4 separate regions of the Homo sapiens genome follow, and regions 2, 3 and 4 are each linked to region 1. Evidence: promoter capture Hi-C in human tissues and cell types (Jung and others, 2019). All regions are on one chromosome and are shown on one strand. The core of a region is centred on a gene start or on the middle of the fragment in contact, and the rest is flanking DNA. Distances in the headings are between cores, read along the strand shown. Region 1 holds the start of PIEZO1 (piezo type mechanosensitive ion channel component 1 (Er blood group)). Region 2 overlaps ZNF469 (zinc finger protein 469). Region 3 overlaps ZFPM1 (zinc finger protein, FOG family member 1). Region 4 overlaps ZFPM1 (zinc finger protein, FOG family member 1).

What was found. The method cuts DNA at HindIII sites, captures the fragments that hold promoters and counts their contacts. A contact is called where the count stands out against the background at its distance.
Region 2: a contact is called between a fragment that was not itself captured here and the fragment with the promoter of PIEZO1 in region 1, in 1 of the 25 tissues and cell types used here (lymphoblastoid cells).
Region 3: a contact is called between a fragment that was not itself captured here and the fragment with the promoter of PIEZO1 in region 1, in 1 of the 25 tissues and cell types used here (spleen).
Region 4: a fragment that was not itself captured here is called in contact with the fragment with the promoter of PIEZO1 in region 1 in 1 of the 25 tissues and cell types used here (lymphoblastoid cells).

What each region holds. Positions count from the first base shown.
Region 1 is chr16:88,783,650-88,786,695 of GRCh38, reverse strand. PIEZO1 (piezo type mechanosensitive ion channel component 1 (Er blood group)) reads left to right here and starts at 1,476. Exons shown (of 51, transcript NM_001142864.4): 1 at 1,476-1,795. The coding sequence starts at 1,732. RefSeq lists silencers at 978-1,307, 1,348-1,827, 2,328-2,647 and an enhancer at 1,332-2,245. The HindIII fragment of the contact is 3,328 bases long and covers 1,283-3,046 here.
Region 2 is chr16:88,440,397-88,443,442 of GRCh38, reverse strand. ZNF469 (zinc finger protein 469) reads right to left here. Exons shown (of 3, transcript NM_001367624.2): 3 at 2,690-3,046. Among named protein-coding and RNA genes, the nearest start is that of ZFPM1, 11 kb to the left of the region's middle. RefSeq lists an enhancer at 1-320. The HindIII fragment of the contact is 6,107 bases long and covers 1-3,046 here.
Region 3 is chr16:88,465,644-88,468,689 of GRCh38, reverse strand. All of the region lies in intron 1 of ZFPM1 (zinc finger protein, FOG family member 1), which reads right to left. Among named protein-coding and RNA genes, the nearest start is that of MIR5189, 1.8 kb to the left of the region's middle. The HindIII fragment of the contact is 7,946 bases long and covers 1-3,046 here.
Region 4 is chr16:88,520,995-88,524,040 of GRCh38, reverse strand. All of the region lies in intron 4 of ZFPM1 (zinc finger protein, FOG family member 1), which reads right to left. It overlaps ZFPM1-AS1 (ZFPM1 antisense RNA 1), which reads left to right. Exons shown (of 4, transcript NR_148997.1): 3 at 1,921-2,020. Among named protein-coding and RNA genes, the nearest start is that of ZFPM1-AS1, 8.5 kb to the left of the region's middle. The HindIII fragment of the contact is 5,029 bases long and covers 1-3,046 here.

The DNA of each region.
Region 1 (3,046 bases), core at 227-2,726:
CTCCCAGGTTCAAGCGATTTTCCTGCCTCGGCCTCCTGAGTAGTTGGGAATACAGGCGCCTGCCATCACGCCCGGCTAATTTTTGTATATTTATTTATTTATTTATTTATTTATTTATTTATTTATTGAGACGGAGTCTGGCTCTGTCGCCCAGGCTGGAGTGCAGTGGCGCTATCTCGGCTCACTGCAAGCTCCGCCTCCTGGGTTGATGCCATTCTCCTGCCTCAGCCTCCCGAGTAGTTGGGACTACAGGAGCCCGCCACCACGCCCGGCTAATTTTTTATGTTTTTAGTAGAGATGGGTTTTCACCGTGTTAGCCAGGATGGTCTCGATCTCCTGACCTGGTGATCCACCCGCCTCGGCCTCCCAAAGTGCTGGGATTACAGGCGTGAGCCACCGCGCCCGGCCTAATTTTTGTATTTTTAGTAGAGACGGGGTTTCACCATGTTGGCCAGGCTGGTCTCGAACTCCTGACGTCAAGTGATCCCCCGACCCCCTACCCCCTTGCCTCAGCCCCGCAAAGTGCTGGGATTACAGGCCTGAGCCACTGCCCCGCCATCTTTTTTTTTTTTTTTTTTTTTTGAGCTGGAGGGTGTGGGCTTGTGCTGGGCTCTCATGAGTTGCCAGTGCCTTGAGGCTCAGTGGCCACAGTCCCCCCAGCCCCACTCCCTGCCTTACGCAGCTGAGTTTGAGAGCCATGAACTGAGCCCAATTAAACGGTGTAGAGCCCTTTGCCCTCTTTCTGTGCCCATCTCAAGGGCAGACGAAGGCCAAACTGACGTGGCCTGGGTGAGGGTCCCGAACACCCTGGACTCAGACCCTACCTCTCCGTGGCAGGGCGCCGCGGCAGCAGGTGCACAGGCCGTGGCTCTCACTCTCACCGTCTCACGCCAGAGCGACCCGGGCAAAGCCGCGCGCGGTGGCCGGCGTGGCTGGGAGCAGCCCCCGAGCCCCCGTCAGACCAACGCGGATCGCGGCACTGCTGCGACCCGAGCATCCCGCGTGCTCCCTCCGGGACCACTAGGCCCGGCCGCCGCGGGAACTCCGAGCCTCCCCACGGTCCCCAGGGGGCGCTGCGTGCTCGCGCCTCGGGGAGCAAAGCGAAAGTCGCTCGGGCACGCGGGGTGCAGTTGCGCGTGGGGCGCTGCCTGGGGGAGCCAGAGGCCCCGGGACCCCTTATGTAGCGCCCGGGCCCCAGCCGCAGCCCACCCAGCGAGAAGCGCCCCTGCCCACCGCCGCGCACGCTCGGAGCCGCGGGGCCAAGACTGCGGGAGGGGAGGGGTCCGCTCCGGGCCAGCGCCAGTCGGGGGTCTCCAGGCCCCAACGCACCAGGGCGGGCCGGAGGCGGGACGGGCCGCGCGGGACAGCGGAGGGGGTGCCTGGGCGCGCCGGGCCGTCGGGGAAGCGCGGAGGCGGGCACGCCGGGGAGGGCGGGAGGGGGCCGAGCTTATAAAGGCCCGCGGGCGGAGGAGGGCGGGAGCCGCCGTCCGGCCCAGCTCGGCCCCAGTGAGCCGAGCGCTGCGCTCCGCCGAGGGGCAGGGCGGTCGCCTGAGCGAGCGCGGGCCCGGGACGTCGGCACCGGCGGGGCGGCCGAAGGAGAAGGAGGAAGAGGAGAAGGCGGCGCGCGGGTCCCCGCGGGTCAGCCATGGCGCGCCGGCCCCGGGGCCCCCGCACCGCCCCATAGCGCCGCGGCGTCCGCTCGGTCTGGGCCGGGCCCTGGGCCCTCCAGCCATGGAGCCGCACGTGCTCGGCGCGGTCCTGTACTGGCTGCTGCTGCCCTGCGCGCTGCTGGCTGGTGAGTGGGGGGCGGGCGCCTGGGGGCGACGGGAGGGGGCTGCGTCTCGGCTCCCCACGGCCTGGACACCGGACGACGCCGGCCGGGGCGAGGGCTGCGGGCGAGCGGGCGCGGAAATTCCCAGGGACGCGCGACCCGGGCGCCCGCATTCCTGAAGCATGAGCGCGCCAGGCGGCGGCGGGGCTCCTGTCCCAGGGCCGGGCTGGAAGGGCGGCGGCGGCTGGGGGAGACGGCACCGCGTGCCCACGGGGGCGGTCGAGCGAGCGCCGGGCATAGCGCGGCTGGCGTCTCCGCCGGGGCGCTGCGGAGAGGAGGCCGCCGGGCGAGGCGGTGTTTGCCCCGGTGGGAAGGGCCGCGGCGGTGGTGGGGGGAGCACGAATCTCTTTTTCTCTTTCGGGTTTAAAAAAAAAAGCGCAAAGTTGCATCAGGACTTCCTGACAATCTGGGAGAAGGCGGGCTTCCTGCCTGGAGCTGTTTAATTTGGAGCTTCCCGAGCCCAACGAACGTCCGTGCCCAGGGCCCAGCCCCGCTCACCGCTGCACCCCCCTCTGCCGGACTGAGGCGGTCCCACACTTTGGAAAAAAATAGTGTGGGTTCCTCCCTGGTCCTCCCTTGCCCTACTGGGCTCAGTTTCGCAGGGGCGGGGGCCGGCCTCTGCCCTGGTCTGGGGGAGGGGACACCCCCGGAGGCTGTGGCCTGGTGTCAGGGCGGGGCAGGGGTCCCCAGTCCTGGCATCTGTGTTCCCTGCTTGCCGGGCAGTGGTGCCCCTTTCGCGAAGCACACCCGGGTGGCTTGGTGCTGCACGGCCTGGCACCCCTACCCTTCCCCGACCCTGGCCTAGCCGGGACCCAGGGTCCGCGCCCTCCGCCCGGGGGCTCCCCACGTGTGATTGATCTGGGAAGCAGTCGGATGGAATTAACCCACGGACAAGTGGGACGGTTTGCATTGGGAGTCCGCCATGGACACGGCAGGTGGGGCCTTTTGATTGTAAAAGCCCTTTCGGAGCCCTTGCCTCGCTCCAGGTGGGAGCTCGCCCAGCGCTAGCTTTGGGGATCTAGAGCCGCCTGCCTGAGGCTCCCAGACAGACTGCGTTTTGATCGGTCGCACAGAAAGGTGGTGAAACTTGGGGAAGATTTTCTAGACAGGAATCAATGAAAACCATTGAGGCTGGAGAGGAGAGGTTTTGAGCAACTCTCTTCAGTGCGGTCAGCCCTGTGTGGACTGGGCAGCCTGGGACCTGCTCCCAGTGCA
Region 2 (3,046 bases), core at 394-2,893, 340 kb after region 1:
CATGCGTGTGTGCCTGTGGGCATGCGTCTGAATGCCCAGGTGTCCGCAGGGGTGAGGCTGTGCTGTGTGCACGTGTGCAGTCGAGGGATTCCCGCCTGTCTGTCCCCTTTAGTGTGTGGAGGTGCCGGGTGTGCACGTGGGTGGTTTGCAGGTCAAGTGGGTGTGGGGTCGGCAGGTGCGGTGCCTCTGGAGGCTGCAGGCGGCCGCCCTGCCCAGGTGGAGGCTGGACCCCCTGGCTGGGCGAATGCTGCCACCTGGTGGCCAGGCGGGGGCCGTCCACATCCTGGGTCTCCAGCCAAACGGTGGTTTCAGGCCCCACAGGAGGAGCGGTGAGTGGACAGGGGCAGGGCTCACTCCTGGCAGTCCCTGAGCATGGCCTCAGATGGCTCAGAGCAGCGGCCCTCCAACGTCAGCCCCCGAGGCTGGTGGGAGCGAGTGCCCAGCCCGTCCCAGAGCCGCTGACCCGAGTGGGGTGCCCTGGATGCTGCCGGCCGGGGCCCTGCCTGAGACACACTGTGCTGAACAGACACACTGCGGGTGTCCCAGACTGCAGACCTGGTGGGACCTCAAGGGTCTCCACCCATGAAGTCCATGGGACCCTTTCACACACCGAGCCCAGACAGGCAGCCCCGTGACCCACCGCTGCCCCAACACCAACTCAGAGCCCTGTGCGGGGTGCAAGGTCCTTTCCATGCCCTTCCCCCCAACCCCCGTCTACGGGCCTCCTGCGGAGCCTCCTCCCTGGATATGAAGCCACCCGCCAGGTATAGTCCCTGTGCCAGACCAGCACCTGTTCAGAAGGCCCCGCCTGGGGGCTGCGTCTGCTGGCTTCCCTGAGCCAGGCTCCTTGCACAGTGGGGGGGTAATGTGAGCAAAGGGGGTGGGCAGATGGCCACACCCCCACTCACCAGCCCCTCCTGCAGGCAGGCCTGGCCCAGGCTGCCTTGTGGCCTCTGCCACCATCAGGGCTGGGAAGACCCCAAAACCAGTGTCCGAGCAGAGAGCCACCCAGGCAGAGGACGGCGGGCGTGAGGGGAGGGGCCCAAAAGGAGGGAAGGGGCCGTGTGCGGGCCTGGGAACAGTGTTCCTGGCAAAGGGAACCCTGCAGGCAGGCGCCTGGCGGGTGGGGAGGCGGTGGGGGTGGGTGGGCCACAGCCGCAGGCCGCAGGTGAATCTGTCCTCTATCCAGGGAAGAGGGGCACCGTGTGCTTGGACGGAAGTGGTGAGACCCCGGTTAAGGTGTCTCATTTAGGAGCTCCGCTTCCCGTGGAAGAGGGGAGGAAAGCAAGGCTGGTGAGGCAGGGAGGGCTGGAGGCCTCCTCTGAGCAGCCTCCTCATCTGCCCAGTCAGGGGTCTACTCTGACCCACCCTCACTGGAGAGGGTCACTTGTCTCCTGGACACTGGGATCTTTGAGGGGCGCTGTAGGGCACAGGAGGCTGGGTGGGGAGGGTCTCCTGGTTCCACTCTTCCTGCGGCCCTGGCCCCTTCCCTGCGGCTCCCTCAATGGAGCCACTCTGCTCCCTGAGGACCCCATCCCGGAGCCAGGAAGTTTTGGAAACAGAGCGGGAGACTGAGGCAGTGCTGCTGACGGCCTCATGATCTCCGTGTGTTAACAAGCAGGAAGGTGTGGCTGCCCCGCTGGGAATCATTTGTAAGATCCCGCCCAGGTTCTGCTGGGGTCTAGAGCTCCCCATGCCCCCAGCCCCTGCAGCTGGCATGACGGTGTCCGACATCCACCCCGAGAGCAGGGCTTTGAGGACAGGCGCTGCCCTCCCCACGCTGGGCCCCTTCGCAGACGCCCTTACGGTGTGAGTTCCGCCAGCAACAAGTGGAAAGCAGGGGAGGCCCAGCGCCCACCTGGGGGAGGGGTGAAAGCTGACCAAGTCCATTGGCCAAGAAGATGAGAGGATGCCTTGATGGTCAGTGGCAGGCACTTCCACAGAACATTCCAGAAGACAGTCTCAGGAGAAGCTTGGAAGGGCCATGAGGGAGCAGGCTTTGAGGCAGGGACGTGTGGACACCTTCAGGGACCCGAGTGTGGGAGAGAGGAGGGGACAAGGCGGACAAGGCTGCGTCTCTGGGTAGGTGAGGGGGCCTGGCTCCCCAGCCTGGGAGGGCTGCGTCCTGGCATGTGAAGGCTGGAAAACTCACACCAGACGGGTGCCTGGGGGGAGGCCCGAGGGTGGCAGAGCCCAGTCCCCACGCCTATCCTCCCTCAGCCCAGCCCCATCGCTCCCTGGGTCCCCCGGGCTGCTTCTGATGTGGGGGAGGGGCGCCAGGGCACCTCAGCCTCCCGTCTGTTCCTCCTGGGGGGTGAGGGGGGGCCTCAGTGAGGATGGCCGGGGTGGGCCTGCCCCTTTCTGGAAAACCTGGGCCAGCCCCCACTGCTGAAGGGGTGGTGTGTTCCTCCTGGGGGCGGGGGAGGTCCTCAGTGAGGATGGCCGGGGTGGGCTTGCCCCTTTCTGGAAAACCTGGAACACCCACTGCTGAAGGGGTGTTCTTAGGACACAGCCATGGCTGCATCACTGGGTCCTGCACGAGGTCCCGCAGCCCCGGCTGGGCCCTTGGCCCACGGTGGCCCGAGAGTGGCAGCTGGCGCAGACACCCTGGGAGCCAAGTTCTGAGGCTCAGGGAGGTGCAGACCAGGGATGGGGGCCGGCGGGAGGACAGACGTCACGCAGCTGGAGGTTTTCTGCGAAAATAGTGGGAATATATTTGAAAAGACAAGTCACTATGATGTTTACAGTACAACCTCAGGGCCCCTCCGCACTTGGTTTGCGACACTCCGGAGGCGTTTTGAATGGCCTACAACACCTTCCAGAGAGGCGGTCTGGGCCTGATTTGGTCTCTTTCAAATATCAAAATAAAAACTTTTGACGTACACATTGCACCCAAGTAAAAACTAAACAATAGAGCAAAACAAACCATGGATCTTCAAGATACTTATGGAGAGAAGGGTGAGAAGGAAGCCCTCTCACCCTTTGACCCACCTTCACAGGCACGACGCTGTGAGAGGACACGTGCGTCCCAGGCCTGGGTTGGGTC
Region 3 (3,046 bases), core at 316-2,815, 320 kb after region 1:
GGGGGCGGGGCCCTGGGGGTATCAGATTCTGGGTGACTGGTCCCAGCCCCAAGTCTAGGGTCAGAAAGCTGCATGGGGCTGGTGGGGGGCTTCAGTTACAGTGCAGGCTCTCCCCTTTCCTCGAAGGCTCCCTGACATCCATTCAGGGATGACTCTGAGTGGGAAAGATACTGGTCCAAGGTCGTACAGCCAAGAGGCCGGCACAGCTGGGACCTGGCCCCAAGTCCCAACCCCTCTCCAAGGCCGGCCTCTTTTCTCCTGTGGGGGCCTGTTGAGAGCGACTTCTTATTTTTGGCTGCCTTGTTTCAGGGAGGGCTATTTGGGGGCTTTCTTTGCAAAATGATGATGATGATGACTTTCAGAGCACCCCGAGTGCTCAGCTCTCCCTCTAGATCTGGTGGCTCTGTGCGCCGCAGGCAGTGGGCTCGCGGGTGCGTCGGGACGGTGGGCTCGCGGGTGCTTGAGGGGCGGTGGGCTCGCGGGTGCTTGAGGGGCGGTGGGCTCGCGGGTGCGTCAGGGCCTGTGGGCTCGCGGGTGGGTCAGGGGCAGTGGGCTCGCGGGTGCGTGAGGGGCGGTGGGCTCGCAGGTGCGTCAGCGGCCGGTGGGCTCGCGGGTGGGTCGGGGCGGTGGGCTCGCGGGGGCGTGAGGGGCGGTGGGCTCGCGGGTGTGTGAGGGGCGGTGGGGGGCTCGCGGGTGTGCGGGTTGAGAGTGTGTTCTCACTTTTGTTCCTGGCATTAGGGTGGGGTGAGATAAGGGGAAGGGGGGCCGCTCAGCTCGAGCAAGCAGATAGATAACGGCGATAGCACCTCCTCCACCGCACAGCACGCATCGCCCTTTTTTATCAAGTTCTCTTTTCTTCTTTTTCGTTGTAGGGTGGTAGAGTAGAAAACACCCCACCCCCACCTCCCAAAGCCATGGAACTAGGGGGTGGGGGCCTCCCCATCTCAGGTCCCAGCCACAAAGGGCACGGGTCAGCTTAGGGCCCGCTGTGCCCAACACGCCCAGCAGCCAGCCCAGAGCCCGTGACTGGAGGAGGGAGGGGATCCAAGGCAGCTGCGAGGCCCGGGGTCCGGAGGTCCCAGCATGACAGGAGCAGCTGCGCATGTGCCCTGCAAGGCAGGTCTCGCGGTCTACACCATCAGCTCCTTGAAAGGACTCTGAGAGGGCGACTGGCACCCCATTTTATAGGAAAAGGCAGCAAAGCCCAGAGAAGTGAAGTGTCACTGGGGCGGGTGCTGAGCTCCTTCCTCGAGAAGCCCTGGGTGGGCACCGCTGGGAGGGGTGGGGAGACCTCAGGGGGGTTGGCCATGGCCTGCAGGGCAGGCTTAGCGGTGTCGGCCCTATTTGACAGATGAGGAAACTGAGACCTGAGACTCTGGGATGTGTGTGAGAACCAGGGCCATGGGGACAGATGCTGTACCCCCTGCTTGTTTGCTGCGGCTCCTGGTCTGGGTGACTGTGGCAACTATGGGGGACTGACAAGGGGTAGACTCTTGGATCACAGGGACAAATGTTCTGGAGCCACTCTGGCCGCTGTGTGATGGGACGAGGCCCTAGGTGACATCACTGAGGTCATCGGCACACTGTAGCCGTTGGCGGAAAACCGTGCAGGAAGAATGCCAGTAGGATTCAGGGAGGGTGGGCTGCGGGCAGAGAGGGCTTTGGAGAGGTGGCCCCACCCCAGGGACCCTCGCCCCGGCTCGTGTCCCCCCATTAATACCACCGCCGTTTTGGGGTTCACTGAGCCCTGCCGCACAAGGGCCCCAGATGCTTTACCCACTTCTGCCCTAATTCCTCAAAGGCCAAGGAGGCTGGAACTGTGATCATGCCCATGATACAAGTGAGGAAACTGAGAGGCTGCCGGCCAGGGGGCAGGATTTAAACGCTGGTCACTGGAGCTGACATTTACCCCCCTCCCCCACATACACACCCCACTGCACTGGAAATAGCTGACTTCCTTTTAGAATATTGAAACAAAACCAAACCCAAAAGTTAGAAAGAAACCAACTTTCTCACCAAAGGAGCTTATTTTCTGGGGACAGATGAAATGAACCCAAGAAACAAGAATAGAGGCAGGCCAGCCTCCGCCCATCCCCTCCCACTGCCAGGATGGGCTGTGCGGCCCTCAGCCGTCCCCTGCCCTTTCTGTGCTTGGCCTTTCTCCCTGAAAGGTACGGGTGAGCCCCCTGGGAGGCTCGTGGGCTGCCCCCCACTGCAAACACCCCAGAACCTCCAGCCAGGATGGAGACTCTGACCTCGGCTAGACTCTAAGCCAGAAGCCAGGGTCCCTTCTGTTCTCTTCATGCTGTGTGATCTTGGGTGAGTTACTCAACCTCGCTGAGCCTTCAGTTCTCTGAGGAGAATGAGGTCATAGGCGCCCCTCCCAGGGCTGCAGAGTACTCCATGCCAGAACTGCCGGGGCTGGGTAACGGAGCTGTTGTCTAACCACGGCCGCCATCAGGATCACTACAACTGGGGGTCCCAGAACCACCCAGAAATGTCACCATCCACACCGCCCCAGGGATCCTGCCTTTGGGTTCCCAGAGGATCTCATTTCTCAAGAGTCACTCAAAATATAAAATCCAGGAAGGGGGAAATGGCAAGCTGGCCTGCACCCACTGGGAGCCCAGGCGGCTCCACAGGAAGCCTTTCTGCCAGCGAGGGAGCGGCCGGGCCACTGCCTCAAGGAGACATCGTAGCTGCGTGGCCTTGGTTTCCCCCGTGCACGGCGGGCCCCTTGGCACCCTCCACCCCATGGCTGCTTCACCTGTCCCTCCTCCACCCCTATGGCTGCTTCACCTGTCCCTCAGCAGGAGGATTAGCCGCACGCCGGGCTCTAATCGCCGCTAATCGCTCCATCAGCGCCGGATCTCGGATCAGCTGAAGGAGGCGGCTTTATCCAGACAGACGCCGCGATGGCACCTGAGTCCCATCTGGGCGCAGCTGTCAGGTGCAGCAGCAGGGCCAGGGATGGCTGGGGACAGGGTGGGAGCCAAGCCGGGGAGCACACAGGGTTTCTCAATGCAGGCAAGCCCCTCCCCCTCCC
Region 4 (3,046 bases), core at 178-2,677, 260 kb after region 1:
ACTCCCAGGAGCAGCGTGTTCCCAGCATGATAAAAACACGCGCCGCAACTGTGCTGACGCTGCACGCACCCCCGATTTTTCTGTGGCGGTCCCGAGTGGAGGGCAGGCGCCATGTTCCCGCCCGGCCCCGCCGAGTGCACCCCGCGTATGTGGGGCGCGACGGGGCGCCTGGCCTGGCTGTGCGGGTGGGGAGGGGCAGGGGGAAGGAGGGTGAGGCTCCCATCCGGCACCCGCCCCCGACCCGGGAGGGAACAGGTAGGAGACCTAGGGGTGCAAGATAAGCAGCTCCGGCCACCCTGCCACGGCCCCCACTGCCAAACACTCTCAGAGGGGCCTGCCGCTCCTACTTCTGCGACCACAGGCTGGGAAGGGGTGAGGGCCTCCCTGCCAGTCTGCCCTGGCTGCTGAGGATGCAGGGGCCACCCTGACACCTCTCAGGGGACAGGTGAGCACAGCCTCGCCTGGGGCCACCAGGGTCCCCAGCCTGGAGGTGGCATGGACACGGCCAGCCCTGAACCAGGGTCTTGCCCGGTGCCAAGTGGCCGGACCCCTGAAGCCAGCCCGGGGCCACCCGCCCATCCTGGGAGCCACTGCTGGGGCCGCGGCCAGGAGACGCTGGGGCAGGAAGCCAATTTCAGCTTCTGCTTCCCTTGCGGAGGGGCTGGCCGGGCACGGGTCTGCCTGTTGATTTTTTTCTGTCTCTTCTTGTTTCCCCACCTCTGATCAGCCTGGAACAGAAGCCCTTTCTCTGGTGCTGCAGGCCCTTCCTGACCCTGCTCTGCCTGTGGGCACTGGGGAGCAAGGGGGAAGGGGGCCTATTTTTTTTTTTTTTTTGAGATGAAGTCTCACTCTTGTCCCCCAGCCTGGAGTGCGATGGCATGATCTCGGCTCACTGCAACCTCCACCTCCGGGGTTCAAGCAATTCTCCTGCCTCAGCCTCCCGAGTAGCTGGGATTACAGGCAAGCACCACCACACCCAGCTAATTTTTGTAGTTTAAGTAGGGACGGGGTTTCACTATGTTGGGCAGACTGGTCTTGAACTGCTGACCTCAGGTGATCTGCCCGCCTTGGCCTCCCAAAGTGCTGGGATTACAGGCGTGAACCACCGCGCCTGGCCTTGGGAGGGGGCCTATTTTTAACTTCCAAACCAGGCCCTTCTGCCAAGACTCTCAGAGATGTGGGTGCTGCGGCCATCTTCCCTCCCAGGGTGCCACAGGCTCGGCACCCAGCCTGGTCAGGCAGGTGTGTCCAGGGTCCACGGAGGACGCTAGAGCCCACCCTGTTTGCCGCCCCTTGGGGTTGCCCTGTCCCTCCTCTGGGCCCTGGCCGGCCCCACCAGCAGTGGCCACTTTAAATTCCCCGGGCGGACCTGAGAATGTTCCTTGTTTCCCCCAACAAAGAGGTCAGTGTCTTGATTCTGCGGTGGCACCGATAGCCATCGGAAACCCTATCTGTGCAGCATCCGCTGTGACAACTTTATCTGAGGCCGTTCCCAAACCTCGCTGTGAAGCTCTGAAGCAGCTTGCAGGGCTGCTGGGGTGGCCCGGCCCATGGAGCCAAACGGCCGGTCCTGCAGAAGCCCCGTGGGGCTGCTTGGTCATCCCCAGGACACTGCGGGGTAGTGGGCCAGCAGCAGGTTCACGGGAGGGTGGGAGCTGAGGCTGAGGCTGAGGCTGCTGAGGCCCCAGCCCGTCTTTCCTCCAGCCCACCCTGAGAAGTCCTCCACCTCCCCATCACCTTAACAGAGGCACCAGCTGGTCCCTCAGTGCCTCTGTCTCCCTCGACCATGCAAGGAGTACACTTCCCAGGTGAGGGCCTGAGGCCTGCACGACTACAAGCCAGGTCCGTGAGACCCCTGCCGCCTTGCTGCTGCCACTTCATCCACTGGGTCACACACTCACTCACTCCCTTATCCGGCAGGCAGGCCTTGTGCACCAGCTGTTGCCAGGTGTGGGGAACACAGTGAACAGAACTGCATCTCCCGTGAGTCCTGGAGTGTGGAGCCGCCCAGAAATAGCAGGTAGGCACCTGGAGGGGCAGCGACAGAGACACGGGACAGGCTGAGACGGGGAGTGGGGGTGGCTGTGCCAGGATGTTGGCCGAGACCTGGAGGGTGAGGAGGGGAGGGTGTGGATACGAGGGGGCCAAGGAACAGCACGGGGGAGGAAACAGAGAGGAGGGAACAGCATGGAGAGGGAACAGCATAGGGGAGGGAACAGCACAGGGGAGGGAACAGCACAGGGGAGGGAACAGCACAGGGTGTGGGAACAGCACAGGGGAGGGAACAGCACAGGGTGTGGGAACAGCACAGGGGAGGGGGAACAGCACAGGGGAGAGGGAACAGCATGAGGGAGGGAACAGCACGGGTTGGGGGAACAGCACAGGGGAGGGAACAGCACGGGGGAGGGAATAGCACGGGTTGGGGGAACAGCATGAGGGAAGGAACAGCATGGGTTGGGGGAACAGCACAGGGGAGAGGGAACAGCATGAGGGAGGGAACAGCACGGGTTGGGGGAACAGCACGGGGGAGGGAACATGGTGTTGGTGCTCAGGATACCTTAGCGGGGGGTCCCTGACCCACGATGGCCTGAGGCTTTCTCACCTGGGGATGGGGCTGGGACCCCTGGAGGCACCACAGGGTCTGAGCAGTCCTCTGAAACCATGCAGGGAGCCCCAGAGCCTGGCGTCAGGGGTCATCACCATGGCAGAACCTGATCTCATAGGAGGGGAAGGCTGGGCTTGGGGAGCTGAGTCAGGCCACTCTCCCTTTAGTTTTCACAGCACGGAGGAGGGAACAGCATGGAGGCGGGGGAAACAGCATGGAGTGGCAGTGGGAAACAGCACAGAGGAGGGAACGGCATGGGGGAGGGAACACTGAGGTTGGCCTCAGGCCATATATTCATCCATCCATCCATCCATGCATCCATCCACCTGTCCATCATCCACCCACCCACCTAATCATCCATCCACCCACCCACCCTCCCATCCATCCATCCACCTGTCCATCATCTACCCACCTACATAATCATCCATCCACCCACCCACC